Linked DNA regions of Homo sapiens: region 1 is linked to region 2. The links are contacts of gene promoters, found by promoter capture Hi-C in human tissues and cell types (Jung and others, 2019). All regions are on one chromosome and are shown on one strand. Each heading gives the region's core, a stretch centred on a gene start or on the middle of the fragment in contact. The rest is flanking DNA. Distances are from core to core; before and after follow the strand shown.

Region 1 (7,778 bases), core at 1,978-4,477, 150 kb after region 2:
AGCTGCCTAAAGCTGACTCTAGCTGGCATCGAGTCAGCCTTTGTGAAGAGAAAGCCAGTATGCTAGCTAGCCATCTGGGGTGGCATTGCAGCATTTTTTTCCTCTTTGGCAAGAAGTCATACCTGGGCTTCTGGAAGTCAGGGCCTGACTGGAAGGGAAGCTAATCTGAAAATTACATGATACAAAAGCAGCTCTATGACCAGAAGGGCTGGGGACAGCTTTCTTAAAACGTCAAGGAACTGACTATATAAGCACATTGTTTGATCCACAGACTCTTGGATCATTGTACAATTTGTGTTTTGAGGGGTGCAACGTTTTCCTGTTGCTGTAACCCTGCTGTGTGTTCCCTGCATGAATAAAACAAGTGTGGGAGCCTCTTTCTTCATCAAGAAGATGAAGTTCTTCATGTGCAGGGGTCAGTAGCCCTTTTCTCTAAGGGCCAAATAGTAGGTTCATTTGGCTTTGTAGCCTGTTTATATAGTCTCTGTCACAACTAGTCTGCTTGGCCATTTTAGTACATAAGGAGCCATACATAAATAAATGAGTGTGACTGTGTTCCAATGGAGCTTATTTTACAAAAACAAGTGGTGGGCCAGAATTGGCCACTGGACCACCGGTTCCCAACCCCTGCTCTAGAGCCTTGAGGCAGATTTTCACACCATTTTATATCTCCTCAGAACTACATAGATACCTTGAGTTCTGAAAATAAGGTTTTGTTTTGTCTGCATTTCTTCTCAGGTCCTTGTGAGTGTTGTAACAGCTTTCCTAATAAAGCAGCAAAACCTGTTAAGCATCAACATTTATTTTTTTAGAAATTATTTTATGTGGAGGTCCTCTTAAAGTTTGTTTGGGTGTTTTTAGTACTATCTTCTTAGAGAATACCGAAGTTTTTCTCTTGATTCAGAACCATTAAAGGTTGTGTTTATGAAGCTATCCAGATATATGTAGTTATTGCCCCTATTCTGAAAGGCACCAGGCTATGTGCTACTTCACATTGGATTTGCCTTTCATAGGCTGCTCCCTCTTCTATCTACAAGGGTCTGCTGTCACTTCCTGTTGCTGTCTCCTGACTTGCCTATAGTGTAGTACCTCTGCCCTCTCAATCTCTTAATTTACCCTTAATCAAAACTTAATAGACCTGGGATTGAAATACTAGTACACTGATATAATAACAAATGAAGATCTGAGTAAATACATAGACATTTTCCAGTGCACTTTGACTACTCAGAAAACTTGACTTGGGCCAACTTTTTATAGCTTAACTGTTTTTAGATAGATGAAACTGATGGTTCCAAAGAAATGAGGTATTGCAACAAAATTTCAAGGTATGGTAAATAAAATCAGAAGAACTTTACATCATAAAAGTCTGGTAACATGTCAGTCTTTTCCCCAAATACTAAAAAAGAAGAGTGCAATGTTTCTCCGTATTTCCGAAGTTTCAACTCTGCGCCCCTCTGCTTTTTCCTCAGCCCATATTGACTCCTGTCTTCCCTGAAAGTAGCTGCATTGCCACACTTTATATTTTATTATATTTCATCCTCTAGTGTTTCATGTCTGTGCCCTAACTAAAATTGTAAGCACCCTAAGATTGTGTTATAAATCTCTGAATTTTTCCCTATACTGCCACCCTAGAACATTAAAGACCGCTTGATACCCAGGAAGTTCTTAATGGCCATTTGATTACTCAAATGTTAACATTTGTTTCAGCTAAATTTATTAAACTGTTTGATTGTCTCATACTGTGAAAATACCTGGATTTAATAAAAATTATTTTCAATTTATATTTCTTTAGACTACTATGCTGCCAGAAAAACACATAGTTCTCTGGGAGAGTAGATAAAGGAAGAGAGGGACTAAAGTCTAGTAACCTAATATAAAGGTTGCAAAAGACTTGATGTATTTTTCTATATATGAGGCTGAGTGGGTAGTGGAAATTGAATATAGAGCCTAGAATTTTACCTCTTCAAGAGATGGATTTGTTACTTATATTCCTTTGGTTTAGGAGTTGTGGTTTTTGATCCTTTTCTTCAGAAAAAGTTAGAATGTCTGAAAAGCCTGGACCTCTTTAACTGTGAGGTTACCAACCTGAATGACTACCGAGAGAGTGTCTTCAAGCTCCTGCCCCAGCTTACCTACTTGGATGGCTATGACCGAGAGGACCAGGAAGCACCTGACTCAGATGCCGAGGTGGATGGTGTGGATGAAGAGGAGGAGGACGAAGGTGAGTAGGCTCAGCATCTGGTGAACCTGATGTCTGCCTTTCAAAGCCTCTGATAAAAGCTATTGGATGTTGGCCGGGCGCAGTGGCACACAACCGTAATCCCAGCACTTTGGGTGGCCGAGGCAGGGGGCATTGCTTGAGCCCAGGAGTTTGAGACTAGCCTGGGCAACATGGCAATACCTTGTTTCTACAGAAAATAGAAAAAAAAAAAATTAGCCAGGTGTGGTGGCGCACACCTGGAGTCTTAGCTACTCAGAAGACTGGAGGCCGAGGTGGGAGGATCACTTGAACCTAGGAGTTTGAGGCTACAGTGAGCCATGATTGTTCCCCACTGCACTCCGTCTCAGAAGACAGACAGGGTGTCTCAAAAAAAAAAGCTACTAGATGTTCTTACTATTGAGGAAAATAGTGTGTGTTTGTGTGCGTGCGCACGCGTGTATTTTTTGAATGTAGGCATTCCATTAAATTTATAGCTAAGGCCTATTTCATAAGCACCTGGCCTCAAGGGATCCTCCCACCTCAGCCTCCCCAAGTGGTGGGATTACAGGGATGAGACACTGAACCTGGCCCGGGAAGCATTTCCTGAAGTCTACAAGCTAAGTTAGGATGCTGTGCGTTTAAACTGTAAACCGCTTGCTCTTACAGGCTTGCCACTCTGCTGTTCTTAAGTCTTCCTACTTCAGGGGTCTTCAACCCACAGGCCACAGACTGGTACTACTCCATGACCTGTTAGAAACCAGGCCGCATGAGCAGTGAGGAAGCCTCATCTGTATTTACAGCCACTCCCCATTGCTCACATTACTGTCTGGGCTCCACCTCCTGTCAGATCAATGGTGGTATTAGATTCTCATAGGAACGAGAATCCTATTGTGAACTGCACATGTGAGGGGGCTAGGTTGTGTGCTCCTTAGAAGAATCTAATGCCTGATGATCCGAGGTGGAGCTGAGGTGGTGATGCTAGAGCTGAGGTGGTGATGCTAGCACTGGGGAGTGGCTGCAAATACAGATTAACATTAGCAAAGAGGTTTGACTTTACAGAGATGATAATAAATCAATTGCTTGCAGACTCATCAACCCCTATCTGTGAGTGGCAAGTGACAAGCTGCATCTGGTGGCAGGCTTTATAGTGGCAAGTGAGTTGGTGTACTTCAGTTGTACAGCTGTATCTGGTGACAGGCTTTAAGTCAGAATCTGATGCTTTTTTTAGTCAGTGCATGGCCTGCCCATTTTTTTATTTACCACTTCCATCCACACCTCTTTCCCGCACTGCGTATTTGTCTCAGTCACAGTTTTGTTAGGCCCACAAGCTAACTATCCAACATGAGTAAAAAACGTCGCTGGAGAGCTTCTTTGAGAAGGGGGAAAGACCCAATAATGAGACAGCAGAAGACAAGACTGCCAATGAAAAGAAAGCTTCATTGAAAAGAAAATACCAAGAGTGCTACTTAAATTACAGGTTCATTGCAACAGATGATTCACATTCTCCAAGCCCACTTTGTATAATATGTGGCAACAAGCTATCCAACAAAGCCATGAAACCTTCAAAACCACTTCACTGGCTGGGCACAGTGGCTCATGCCTGTAATCCCAGCACTTACAGAGGCCGAGGTAGATCACCTGAGGTCAGGAGTTCAAGACCAGCCTGGCCAACATGGGGAAACCCTGGCTCTGCAAAAATACAAAAATTAACCAGGCATGGTGGTGCACACCTTTAGTCCCAGCTTCTCGGGAGGCTGAGGCATGAGAATTGCTTGAACCTGGGAGGCGGAGGTTGCAGTGAGCCGAGATTGTGCCGCTGTGCTTTAGCCTGGGCGATAGAGCAAGACTCCATCTCAAAAAACAAACAAACAAAAAAAAAACTGCTTCACCACTTGGAGACCAAGCACCCTGCGTTTAAAAGACAAGCCTTTGGAGTTTTTCAAAAGAAATAAACATGAACGTGAAAAACAGAGGCAATTATTGAAAGCTCCCACTTCATCAAATGTGACTGCACTGAGAACATCTCATTCTTAGTGGCTAACTGCATTGCTAAAGCTAAGAAGCCCTTAACTAACTGCATTGCTAAAGTAAGAAGCCCTTTACTATTGAAGAGTTGATCCTGCCTGCTGCTAAGGACATTTGTCATGAACTTTTAGGAGAGGCTGCAGTTAAGCTGCAGTTCAAAAGGTGGCACATGTTCCTCTTTGAGCTAGCACCATAACTAGATGAATTGATGACATAGTAGAGGATATTGAGGCATAGTTGTTAGAGAGGATTGATGAGTCACCGTGGTACACATTGCAGGTTGACAAGTCTGCCGATGTTGACAACATGGCAACAATGCTTGTTTTTGTGCAATATATTTTCAGGAGGATGTGCATGAGACTATGTTATGTGTACTTCGTTGCCAACCAGCACCACAGCTGCAGAACTATTCAAGTCTTTTGAACGATTACATATCAGGAAAACTGAATTGGTCATTTTGTGTCGTATATGCACAGATGGAGCGGCTGCCATGGCTGGACGGCTTTCTGGTTTCACTACTCGAGTCAGAGAGGTCGCTTCTGGATGTGAGTCTATGCACTGTGTCATCCATAGAGAAATGCTGGCTAGCTGACAAATGTCACCTGAACTTAACGTTTTGCAGGATGTGATTAAAATTAACCACATTAAAGTACATGCCCTTAACCCATGTCTGTTCACGCAGTTCTGTGAGATGGATGCAGAGAATACTTCTCTTACACAGAGAAGCGAGATGGCGTTCTAAAGGTGGATCACTGGCCAGAGTTTTTGAGTTAAGAGGCCTGCTCCAGAGATTTCTCTAAGAATAACAGTCACCACTAGCAGAACATTTTAGTAACACAGAATGAGTGGTAAAACTTTTTTTTTTAAGTTCAGGGGTACATGTGCACGTTTGTCGCAGAGATAAACGTGTACCATCCCATCACCTAAGTATTAAGCCCACTGTCCATTAGCTAGTTTTCCTGATGCTCTCCGTCCCCAGCCTCCACAGGCCCCAGTGTGTGTTGTTCCCCTCCATGTGTCCATGTATACTCATCATTCAGCCCCCACTTACAAGTGAGAACATACGATACTTAGTTTTCTGTTCTGAGCATTGGGATTTTTGACATGTTTCAAACAGTAGGAGTGATTTTTGAAAGAGAGTGAGCCAGGGCCTTCTTTCTCACAGCTGGTGCATGATCACCTATCTCAGCTCTCAAAAGAGTTTGAGCATTACTTCCCAACCACAAAAGACCCCCGAACTGGGAAGGAATGGATCCACAACCCATTTATGAATAAGCCAGGTCAATCGACTTTGTTCATGCTTGAAGAGGATCAACTGGTTGAGATCACAAATGGCAGTGGCCTTAAAAGTATGGTTTGAGACAACTTCAAAATCTCCATATATTCTGGATTAAAGTCGAGGTGGAATATCCTGAGATTGCCAAAAAAGCACTGAAAAACCTGCTTCCATTTCCAATATCCTATCTTTGTGAAGCAAAGTTTTCTGCAGTGACAGCAACCAAAACAAGATTATGGAGTATACTGGACATAAGCAGCACACACTTCGAATGTCACTGTCTCTCATTGCCCCCAGATGGGACTGTCTAGTTGCAGGGAAAACAAGCTCAGGGTTCCCATTGATTCCACATTATGATGAGTTGTATAATTATATCATTATATATTACAATGTAATAATAGAAATAAAGTGCAGAATAAACATAATGCGTTTGAATCATCCTGAAACCATCCCCCCACCCCCAGGCTGTGGAAACATTGTCTTCCACAAAACTGGTCCCTGGTGCCAAAAAGGTTGAGGACCGCTGTCCTACTGCACTACAGTCATCATCTTGGGTAGATACTTATCTCCTGATTCACAGGGCCTGACACTGAGTAGGTACTTGGTACCTGTTTGTTATTGCCAGCTATAAATAAAATAGCTTTCCCTTCCATTGACATATGACCAGAGTTTTAAAAGGTAATGATTTCAAATAACTATATGTTAGATTCCGTTTTTCATTCATAAGGGAAATAATCTCTGATCATAACATAGAATTAAAAGATGATTTTCAGTAGTTTTGGCATTTGACCCAGGATTTATACATATTTTACAGATTTACAGATTTTAAGAAATAACTAATACTTTCTACCCAAGATATTCCTCCTGATTAGTTTGTGTTTTCTTTGCATGCTGAGTTTGTTTATTCTCAGTCACTCTTAGAATAAAACGCTTCTCACGTACAGGTGGCTTAGAGCAGCAGTCTCCAACCTTTTTGGCACCAGGGACTGGTTTCATGGAAGACAGTTTTTCCACAGATGCAGGGAAGGGGTTGGGGGCGGCAGCTGAATGGTTTTGGGATGAAACGGTTCCACCTTAGATCAGGCATTAGATTCTCATAAGGAATGCACAGTCCAGATCCCTCACATGCGCAGTTCACAATAGAATTTGCACTCCTATGAGGATCTAACAGGTGATGTGACAGGAGGCGGAGTTCACGTGGTAATGGTCACTGGCCTGCTCTTCACCACCTGCTGTGCGGCCCAGGCCACAGACCAGTACCAGTCCTGGGAGTTGGGAACCCCTGGTTTGGAGGAAGCAGAATGATTAGTTTTCACATCAGTCAGCATGAGTATTTCTTTTCTTTAAAAATTAGCACATATGACAGAAATTATCAAGAAAATAGAGGAGGAAAAGCATCAAGGAGTTTGGGTGCAGTTAATGGTATAATTCTCTGGAAGCATTTTTACAGTTTTATTTTGAAGCATATTGAGACAGGCAAAAATTAATGAGTTATAAGGTGGTAAAATGGACAGAGAATAGGACATCTCACTTATTTCCAAATGTTATGTCCCTTTGTCCCTTCTACAGTTTTTCCATTTTTCCTAAAAACCATTTGTGCTTGTTGTCTATTTAAGTTCACCTCAAACAGGAAGAACAGCCACATGTGCAAGAGCCAGTAAAGGACATTCCTTGGAAGGTGGGGGGCAGTTCCTGAGAGCAAAGATGGGTCAGCCAACAAATACTTGAGCATTTCCTATGTGCCAGGCACTGCGGAAAATAGTGGTTTAAAAAAAAAAGGAACAAAAAAACAAGGTTCCTACCCTCTTGGACCTTACAGAGAAATGGTGTTTTTTTTTTTTTGTTTTTTTTTTTTAAATCATAAATAGGCTAGGTATGGTGGCTCACACTTGTAATCCCAACACTTGGGGAGGGTGAGGCAGGATGATTGCTGGAATCCAGGAGTTCAAGACCAGCCTGGGCAACATAGACAAACCCTATCTGTACAGAAAAAATTGTTTTAAATTAAGAATTCTAAATAATAATTGCAAGTAAGCAAAGTGTGTTGTAATGGAGAAGCACCACATACTCATGGTGAGAGCCTATGACCTGGCATTGGGAGGTCTGGTGAGTAAGACTGCCTAAGGAAGTGATGTTGACTGAGACTCCAAGGTGGAGTCAGAGTTAGCCAAGCAAAGAGGATGGAAAGAGCATGCAGAGACCAGGAGGCAGGTGAGAGCATGGTGTGCTCTAGGACCCAGGAGAAGCAAGAACTGCCGCACTAGAGGTCCGAACAAC
Region 2 (7,934 bases), core at 596-3,095:
CGCATTCTTTAGATTTATGGAATCACGTTAGGACAACGGTCGTCCAGAATTTAAAATCTAGATATCTGAATCTCAGAATCTTGAAAGTTACTGAGAGCCACGAAATCCCGTATTAAAAGGTGCCTATAATATAATCCAGTTAAAAATTTTAAAATTTGAAGTTTTTCCTCCTTTGTAAAAACGAAACAGGACGAAATCTGGGTTTTTTGCTTCTCCATTACTTGGGAAGAAGGAAACCAGGAGTTTTGTTTAGCGAGTGTAAAGCCCCTCTCCCTTCGTTCGACCAACCCTCTGCCGCAGAAGGTTGTCAAGCAAACGCTTTGAGCGTTTCCACACACCGGGTCGACGGAGCAAGGATCTGGGCTTTGCCTCGCTCTTCCGAAGGCAGCTGCCCAACGCTTGGCCGGGCTTAGCCTGCCCTCAGCTCACCGCCACGAAGAACGCGACTAAAACCCTGGAAGGCATGCCACCCGTTACTGGCCAGAACTCTCGTCTTGGGATCTCCCACACTCACCTGGCACCACCATCCGCGCGGCTCTGCACCCACAGCCCCGGCCCGCCCCCCCCCCCCACCCCGGAAAGCTGCGTCCGGGCTGGAGCCACTGGAACCCGCGCCAAGGCCCGGAATCCTATACGTAGCAGGGGCCTCGGAGATCAGCACACGCCCTCCAGCTGCTATTTAACAGAGTAGAACACTGAGGCCCTGCGAGGGGACAAGGACAGGCCCTGGATCTCCCAGTGAATGGCCAGGGAACGAACCCGGGCCAGAGGGGCCGCGCCGCGAGGATCTCAGGTTAGGACCAAGTTCCGGCTCAGGGACAGCAGGAAAGGAACTCAGAAATTGGACACCCATGAAGCAAACGTGTCCCGACTGCCCGCCCCTTCCCCCGGAGACGCGCCCACCCGGCCACCGCTCTCTTCCCACTCCCCCATTACCCGCAGCCCTCACTCCCCGCTGCGGGAAGGGGCTGCTTGGCTGCCTCTGGGGGTCTTCAGAGCTACCCTGGTCCCGGGGGATTGGAGGAGGAGGTTACCTATCCTGCGTCGTCTTTAATCCGTGCACCACTATCCATCAAATAGAGACAGATCCTGGGCCTCTCAAAGACGGATGATTGGGGGTGGTGATTGGCCTATCCCTAAATATCTACCACGCAAGGACTCTTGAGAGATCCAGACCCCGGTACAGTCGAGGGACCTGGGGCCCAAAAAGGGAAAGCGGCTACCTCTACCACACAGTTGGGAAGCGCAGTCCTAAAGGAGACGCAGGTTGGAGACTCCGCTAAGCGGAGAAGCCGCAGTGGGGCCATGGCAAGTCACCTTCCCTTTCGGGCCTAGGAATACTCATTCGAAAGATGGGGGGACTGGAGTGCCGAGTGGCTGTGGCAGCCACGATTGGGGTTTGGAAACCATCCTGAAAGGCCCGGGGAGCCAGTCTCCTGGAACTTCTCCCTCCCCATTCCCACAAAAACCAAGCGCCCTCTCGGCCAATTCTCACCCTCTCAGGACAAAAAAGTGAGATGAGCCCGTCCTTTCACCTGCGAGTCCAAGCCCTTGGCAGAGGCCTGAAAAGTCCGAAAACTCCGAGTTCGGGCGCTGAGGTCTCCCGAGCCGGTTCCTGAACTCTCCGGGCCTCAGTCGATCGGGGTGCGGAGGGGGCCGACCCGGGGGATCTCCAAGCGCCCTCCCCGCCCTGACGCTGTGGGGCTCCTACCGCGCCGCCACAGCTGCTCCTACCTGGGGAGGTGCGCCCGGGCCCCGGGGGGCGGGCAGTCGGGGGGCGGGCAGGGAACCGGTGCCGCCCCACGCTTCGTGGCCCCTTTAAGGAGGGGAAGCCGGCGGAGGGAGGAGCCGGTCCGGTGTGTGCAGGGGAGCGCCTCGCCAGCGGTCCGCAGGGCTGGAGACCCACGCCGTGGAGAGGACCAGCCTCAGGTCGCCCCGCCTGGGCCCGCGCCCCGACCTCGCTGCCCCCGCCTCGCCTCTCTGCCCGTGGCGCTTACGGCCACCTTGGCCTCGGGGGCAGGGCATGGGCGGCCCCCGCCAGATCGCCCAGCGCCAGTACTAACTGCCCTCGCTCTGGCCTTCGAGCCCGAAGCCTCTTCTGCGCGCACAACCTAGGCAGTAATCCTAAACTAGCGGGCACCACAGACCAGCTGCAGCCACCCCAACCCAGGGATCACTTCCGGACCCCTCGACCGCCCGGCACCAGCGCGCAAGGGACCCTTCAGCCGGAGACCAGAGTCCAGTCCCGGTCACGAGGCCACCGCCGCTGCCCGCCTCGAGAAGCACCACGCGGGCTGAGCCGTCGGCTAGCGGGTCACTCCCGAGCCTCTGTCTGCACCGCGCCAGCCCCAGACCACGGACGCTGAGCCTCCAGCGCGTGCCAGCCTGGGCCGCTGGGCTCTCGGGGCCAGCCCGCGACGATCCCCTGAGCTCTCCGCAGAAGGGCCGAGCGTCCGTTCCGGGGACGCCAGGCCCGCCCCCGCCCCCCGACAGCCGCGGGGATCCAGAGCCCGGGGGTGCGGGACGCCCGCGCCATGACTGCCGAGAGCGGGCCGCCGCCGCCGCAGCCGGAGGTGCTGGCTACCGTGAAGGAAGAGCGCGGCGAGACGGCAGCAGGGGCCGGGGTCCCAGGGGAGGCCACGGGCCGCGGGGCGGGCGGGCGGCGCCGCAAGCGCCCCCTGCAGCGCGGGAAGCCGCCCTACAGCTACATCGCGCTCATCGCCATGGCCATCGCGCACGCGCCCGAGCGCCGCCTCACGCTGGGCGGCATCTACAAGTTCATCACCGAGCGCTTCCCCTTCTACCGCGACAACCCCAAAAAGTGGCAGAACAGCATCCGCCACAACCTCACACTCAACGACTGCTTCCTCAAGATCCCGCGCGAGGCCGGCCGCCCGGGTAAGGGCAACTACTGGGCGCTTGACCCCAACGCGGAGGACATGTTCGAGAGCGGCAGCTTCCTGCGCCGCCGCAAGCGCTTCAAGCGCTCGGACCTCTCCACCTACCCGGCTTACATGCACGACGCGGCGGCTGCCGCAGCCGCCGCCGCCGCCGCCGCCGCCGCCGCCGCCATCTTCCCAGGCGCGGTGCCCGCCGCGCGCCCCCCCTACCCGGGCGCCGTCTATGCAGGCTACGCGCCGCCGTCGCTGGCCGCGCCGCCTCCAGTCTACTACCCCGCGGCGTCGCCCGGCCCTTGCCGCGTCTTCGGCCTGGTTCCTGAGCGGCCGCTCAGCCCAGAGCTGGGGCCCGCACCGTCGGGGCCCGGCGGCTCTTGCGCCTTTGCCTCCGCCGGCGCCCCCGCTACCACCACCGGCTACCAGCCCGCAGGCTGCACCGGGGCCCGGCCGGCCAACCCCTCCGCCTATGCGGCTGCCTACGCGGGCCCCGACGGCGCGTACCCGCAGGGCGCCGGCAGTGCGATCTTTGCCGCTGCTGGCCGCCTGGCGGGACCCGCTTCGCCCCCAGCGGGCGGCAGCAGTGGCGGCGTGGAGACCACGGTGGACTTCTACGGGCGCACGTCGCCCGGCCAGTTCGGAGCGCTGGGAGCCTGCTACAACCCTGGCGGGCAGCTCGGAGGGGCCAGTGCAGGCGCCTACCATGCTCGCCATGCTGCCGCTTATCCCGGTGGGATAGATCGGTTCGTGTCCGCCATGTGAGCCAGCGTAGGGACGAAAACTCATAGACACATCGGCTGTTCACACGTTCCCCGCAATCTGAGAACGAACAGGAATGGAGAGAGGACTCAACTGGGACCCACGTGGAAAAGACCGAGCAGGCCACAGAGGCTCGGTCTCCCCGCGCACAGCGTAGGCACCCGGTGTACTCTGTAAACGGGAGGAGGTGGGGCGAGGCAGCCAGAGCCCTTGGACTGGCACAGGGACCCTCGATGGAGCGAAGCCCTCAAACGGGATGCTTTCTGGTATTCTATCGGGGAGGGTCCTTGGCGGTAACCAGAGGGCAGCGTAGTGTCAACACCAGAGACCAGGATCCAAATTGTGGGGAATCAGTTTCAGCCTTCCATGTGCTGCCGGAACTCGGGCCTTTTTACGCGGTTCGTCCTCTAGTGCCTTTAACTGCGTTACTACAATAAAAGGCTGCGGCAGCGCCTTTCTTCTTAAAGTGAGGAGGACAAATTTGCAAAAGAAATAGGCTTTTCTTCTTTTTTAAATTGGAGAAATCTCTGCTCTGGTTGACCTGGGCTGGTTTTCCCTGTCTCTGAGAACTTGAGACCTAGCTCCGAGTTGAACTGTGCGTCAGCACTCCAGTCCCATCACCTGAACCTTCAGTCTCCCCCATCTGTTACACTAGAGGGCTGCAGGACTCTATCCACCGCCCCCGGGTTATCATTCAGGGCCCCATCATCTTGGATGCTGCCCTGCGTATTTGGCAGCAATGGTGGGCCACCCAGGGCCTCTGAGTAGCCACCCAAAGCCTAGCCGCTGTTCTAGGGAACGGAAAAGAGTTCATGGCCAAGCGTCTAACCTAAAGTCCCAGGATTGGCTCCAGGCAGCAATTATATCATAACTTATTGAACTTTTGAGCAGGACGTGCTGGTAATTTCATGGCTGTTACTGCCCAGTCATAAATCTGCTTTTCCATTATAAGGCAGAGAGAAGTACATTCGTTCATTTGTCCACTGTTTCTTGTCATCACGCAGCCCTGGACCCAAAGGGTGAACTAAAGTTTAAGGAGATGAGAGGATTCAAGGAGCCCGTTGGTGACGCCTTTCAGTAGCTGGGGAGGGCTCTTCCATCCCCAGCACCCCCTGCTACACCTCAGCAGCCTCCCCCATGCAAAAAGGAAAGAGAAAAATTAAGTTAGGGCAGTCAGTAAAGTGAGCTTTAGAAAGAAACTGGAATTTTAACTTCATTTTGTATCTTGCTTAAGTAGCAGGCTCACTAAAATTAGAGAAAGTCCAATAACTCTCCCCCTTTCCCTTGAGAAATCTTTAAGTTTCGATTCTGGAGCAAAAACTTTCAGCATTAAATATTTCAGAGGCTCCATTCACAGCTTTCAGATAAACTGGAGTGTTCAGATGGACTGTTTTAATAAAAATCTTTGAGCAAGTGAGTTATGGCAAGAGAAACTCAGCCTCTTTCTGTATAAACTTAACAGGGAAGGGCTGGGGTGTGAAAAAGAAGATTGTATGAAAACCATTGGTAATTTTTATTTTTTATTTTTGGGACTGCACTATCCTGTTCACGAAGACATGTGAACTTGGTTCAGTCCAAATGGGGATTTGTATAAACCAGTGCTCTCCATTAGAAATATGGTGCAAGCCACATATGTAATTTTAAATATTCTAGTAGCCACATTAATAAAGTAAAAAGAAACAGGTGAGGTTAATTTGAATGATATACTTAACCCAACATATCAAAAATATTATGATTTCAACATATAATCAATGTAAAAATTGAGATGTTTTGCTCTCCTTTTACATGAAGGGTTTACAATTTGGAGTGTGTTTTACACTTACAGCTTCTCTAAATGTGGACTAGTCACCTGCTAGGTGTTCAGTAGCAACACTGTGTTGTGCAGTGCAGGTCTAGGTGCTGGCCCTTCCTGGCTTTGGTGGTGGTACCTGGAAGCACTTGAGCGCTGACCCTGCCACCCGTCGGCCCAAATTCCAGACCCAGCCTTGTGACCTTGAAGAGTGCAGGTATTGGGCCGCCCTCCTCTCCCTAAGAATCTTTGCAGGTATGGAGTTCAAGGGTTCTCCTTCATTCAGCTAGACAAGCTGGCTGTCCCAGGTGCAGAGGTCAGGATGACTTGCCTGGTTGAGAAGAATGGGAAAGTAAGAGTTCTCCACCCAGGAGTTTTGTTCTGGGCTGCAGAAGAGCCCAGGCGTGGGACTGGGGCTGGAGAAGGCTGGTTTTTGCCCTTAGTGCCAGAGTTGAGGCTTTCTCTGTTTCCTAATGAGCAAGTCCAGTGCTTTGACAGCACCACTAATCTTAAGCCAGTCCCTTCTCCTCTCGGGTCGTCATTTGTGAAATGGGAATTTGTGACTGCTACCTCAGATAATTTTCCTGAAGTTAAACGAGAGGAGAGGTGAAAAGCGCTTTGTAAACTGCAAAGCGCAGAGCATAGCAGGGCTGAAAGGCTTTAAATAAGCGCTGCCTTGTAACAAAGCCTCCTGGAGTGTCATGATAAAGCCCCGGGAAGGAGAAAGACAGGGTGGGAAAGAGCGGACATTTTCGTCCCCCATTCTACTTGTCAACTTGCGGGACAGGTAAGATTGTGCCAAAGGCGAGGGTCAGCATCAGGAGAGAGAGGACGCTGCGGGGAGGGACCTGGTTGTGTGCTTCAGGTGCCCCAAGGGACACGGAGACGCGCGAGGGTTGGGATCAAGGCGTTGAAGACAGAGCGACAGCCCTTCTCGGCCTCCCACCGGCCGACGACACCAAGAGCTCGCGCACCGGCCGGGCCAGGTGGGAATGGGCGCCGCGCAGGGGAGCGAGTACCTCGGAGACAGTGCGCGCCGCCCGGGGCCTCATCCACAGCGGGGTCGCGGGCGGCCCCCTTAGCCCGCGTGACTGTGGGATCCTGAGAACATTCCGCTGTATGTCTTGGAACCTTCTAACCCTAGGAATTTGCAAACCCCTCCCAGTCCCTCATCTGGGGGCTCAGAGACTGGAGGTGCCTTTTTTATTTTTTTCTTCTTCACTTTATGAACACAGAAAAATCGTTTGTCCCTCTCCGGGCCCTGCACCCGCCAGCGTCGTGTGCAGGCGTCCCCGGGCTGTGGATAATTAGACACGTTCTTCCCTCATTGCCCAAGGCTCGTTAGAATTCGCCCTAGAGCTGTATCATGTATTTTCTTTCAAATTAACTTTGCTTGCAATTAAGCTTAGGGAACCAGCAACAAAAGCAAACTTGGCCCGAGGTCGTTCACCGCGAAAATGGATTAGAGAAACTTCTTCCCCGATTTAAGGGGAAAGATTCCTGCGGCCAGCGCTTTGGGGAAAGTGCCCCGACCGCAGAGGCGACGACAGGGGAGCAGGAAGCTGCTCACGGTAGTCGGCGTTGGCGGCAGCGGTGGCCTTCCTCATCTGGGCGATGTGGGCTCCTAGAAGAGTAAGGATAACATCCTGGAAATGACTTCTGTACGGTTTGAGCCCAACTGCACACTCATGACTTGGAGCTGCCCTGTGGAGTTACAGTTTACCAAACACATTCATGAACATAATCTCATTTACTAAAAACTTTGTGAGAATTTTCTTTTACTAAAATTTTTTCTTATTACAAAATCAGTAGTGTTCATTGTTTTAAAAGAAATAACAGGTAAGAAAAATAAAGAGGGAGGGAAATAACAGCAAAAAAAAAAAAAAAAAAAGGCTGGCGGGGGGGAACCCATAGTTGGCCCAGAGAATGCGCAGTTAACGCTTAAGTATATATCTTTTCTGGAGTTTGTTTTTGCTTTTGACTTTTCCCCTATACAGGAGGCCTGAGTCTTGACTTTGTCACTAAATTGCTGTGAGGTCTTGAACAAATTCCTTCTGGCATGGAGTGGGCCTGTTTCCCCACCTATAAAACTGGGTGCAGGTCCCCTTTTACCCTTTCACATTTTCTAATGCCTCTTCTTTTGGTCACTTGAATGCAAGATGCACTTCTGCAAGGGCCAGGAGCAAGGCCTGGGGGCAAAGGGAGGCAAGCCCTCCCTGTTGGTTTACACAAGAGATGGAGGTCGGCTGCAAGGACATTCCCTGGGAGCTTGCTAGAAATATTGGTTCTTTGGCCTCACCCCAGACCTCCTAGACCAGAACCTGCCTTTCTATAAGACCCTTAGGTGATTCCTATGCCCTGGTCAAAGAGAAAGAACTTTGAAAAAATGTGTTATTGAGATTAGAGATGCCAGAATAACTTCTAGAAGCCTCCTGTTTCTGGCCCGGAACCCCAGCTAGCACTCCAGCGCTGTCTTGTGGCTCTGACCACAG

What was found. Contacts are between HindIII fragments. The study calls those that stand out against the background at their distance.
Region 1: a fragment that was not itself captured here is called in contact with the fragment with the promoter of FOXE1 in region 2 in 2 of the 25 tissues and cell types used here (IMR-90 fibroblasts and liver).

Annotation. Positions count from the first base shown.
Region 1 is chr9:98,002,933-98,010,710 of GRCh38, forward strand. ANP32B (acidic nuclear phosphoprotein 32 family member B) reads left to right here. Exons shown (of 7, transcript NM_006401.3): 4 at 2,032-2,221. Among named protein-coding and RNA genes, the nearest start is that of ANP32B, 23 kb to the left of the region's middle. The HindIII fragment of the contact is 6,325 bases long and covers 66-6,390 here.
Region 2 is chr9:97,851,381-97,859,314 of GRCh38, forward strand. FOXE1 (forkhead box E1) reads left to right here and starts at 1,846. Exons shown (of 1, transcript NM_004473.4): 1 at 1,846-5,337. The coding sequence starts at 2,535. The coding sequence ends at 3,656. It overlaps PTCSC2 (papillary thyroid carcinoma susceptibility candidate 2), which reads right to left and starts at 1,700. Exons shown (of 11, transcript NR_147055.1): 1 at 1,536-1,700. RefSeq lists an enhancer at 313-814. The HindIII fragment of the contact is 9,888 bases long and covers 1-7,577 here.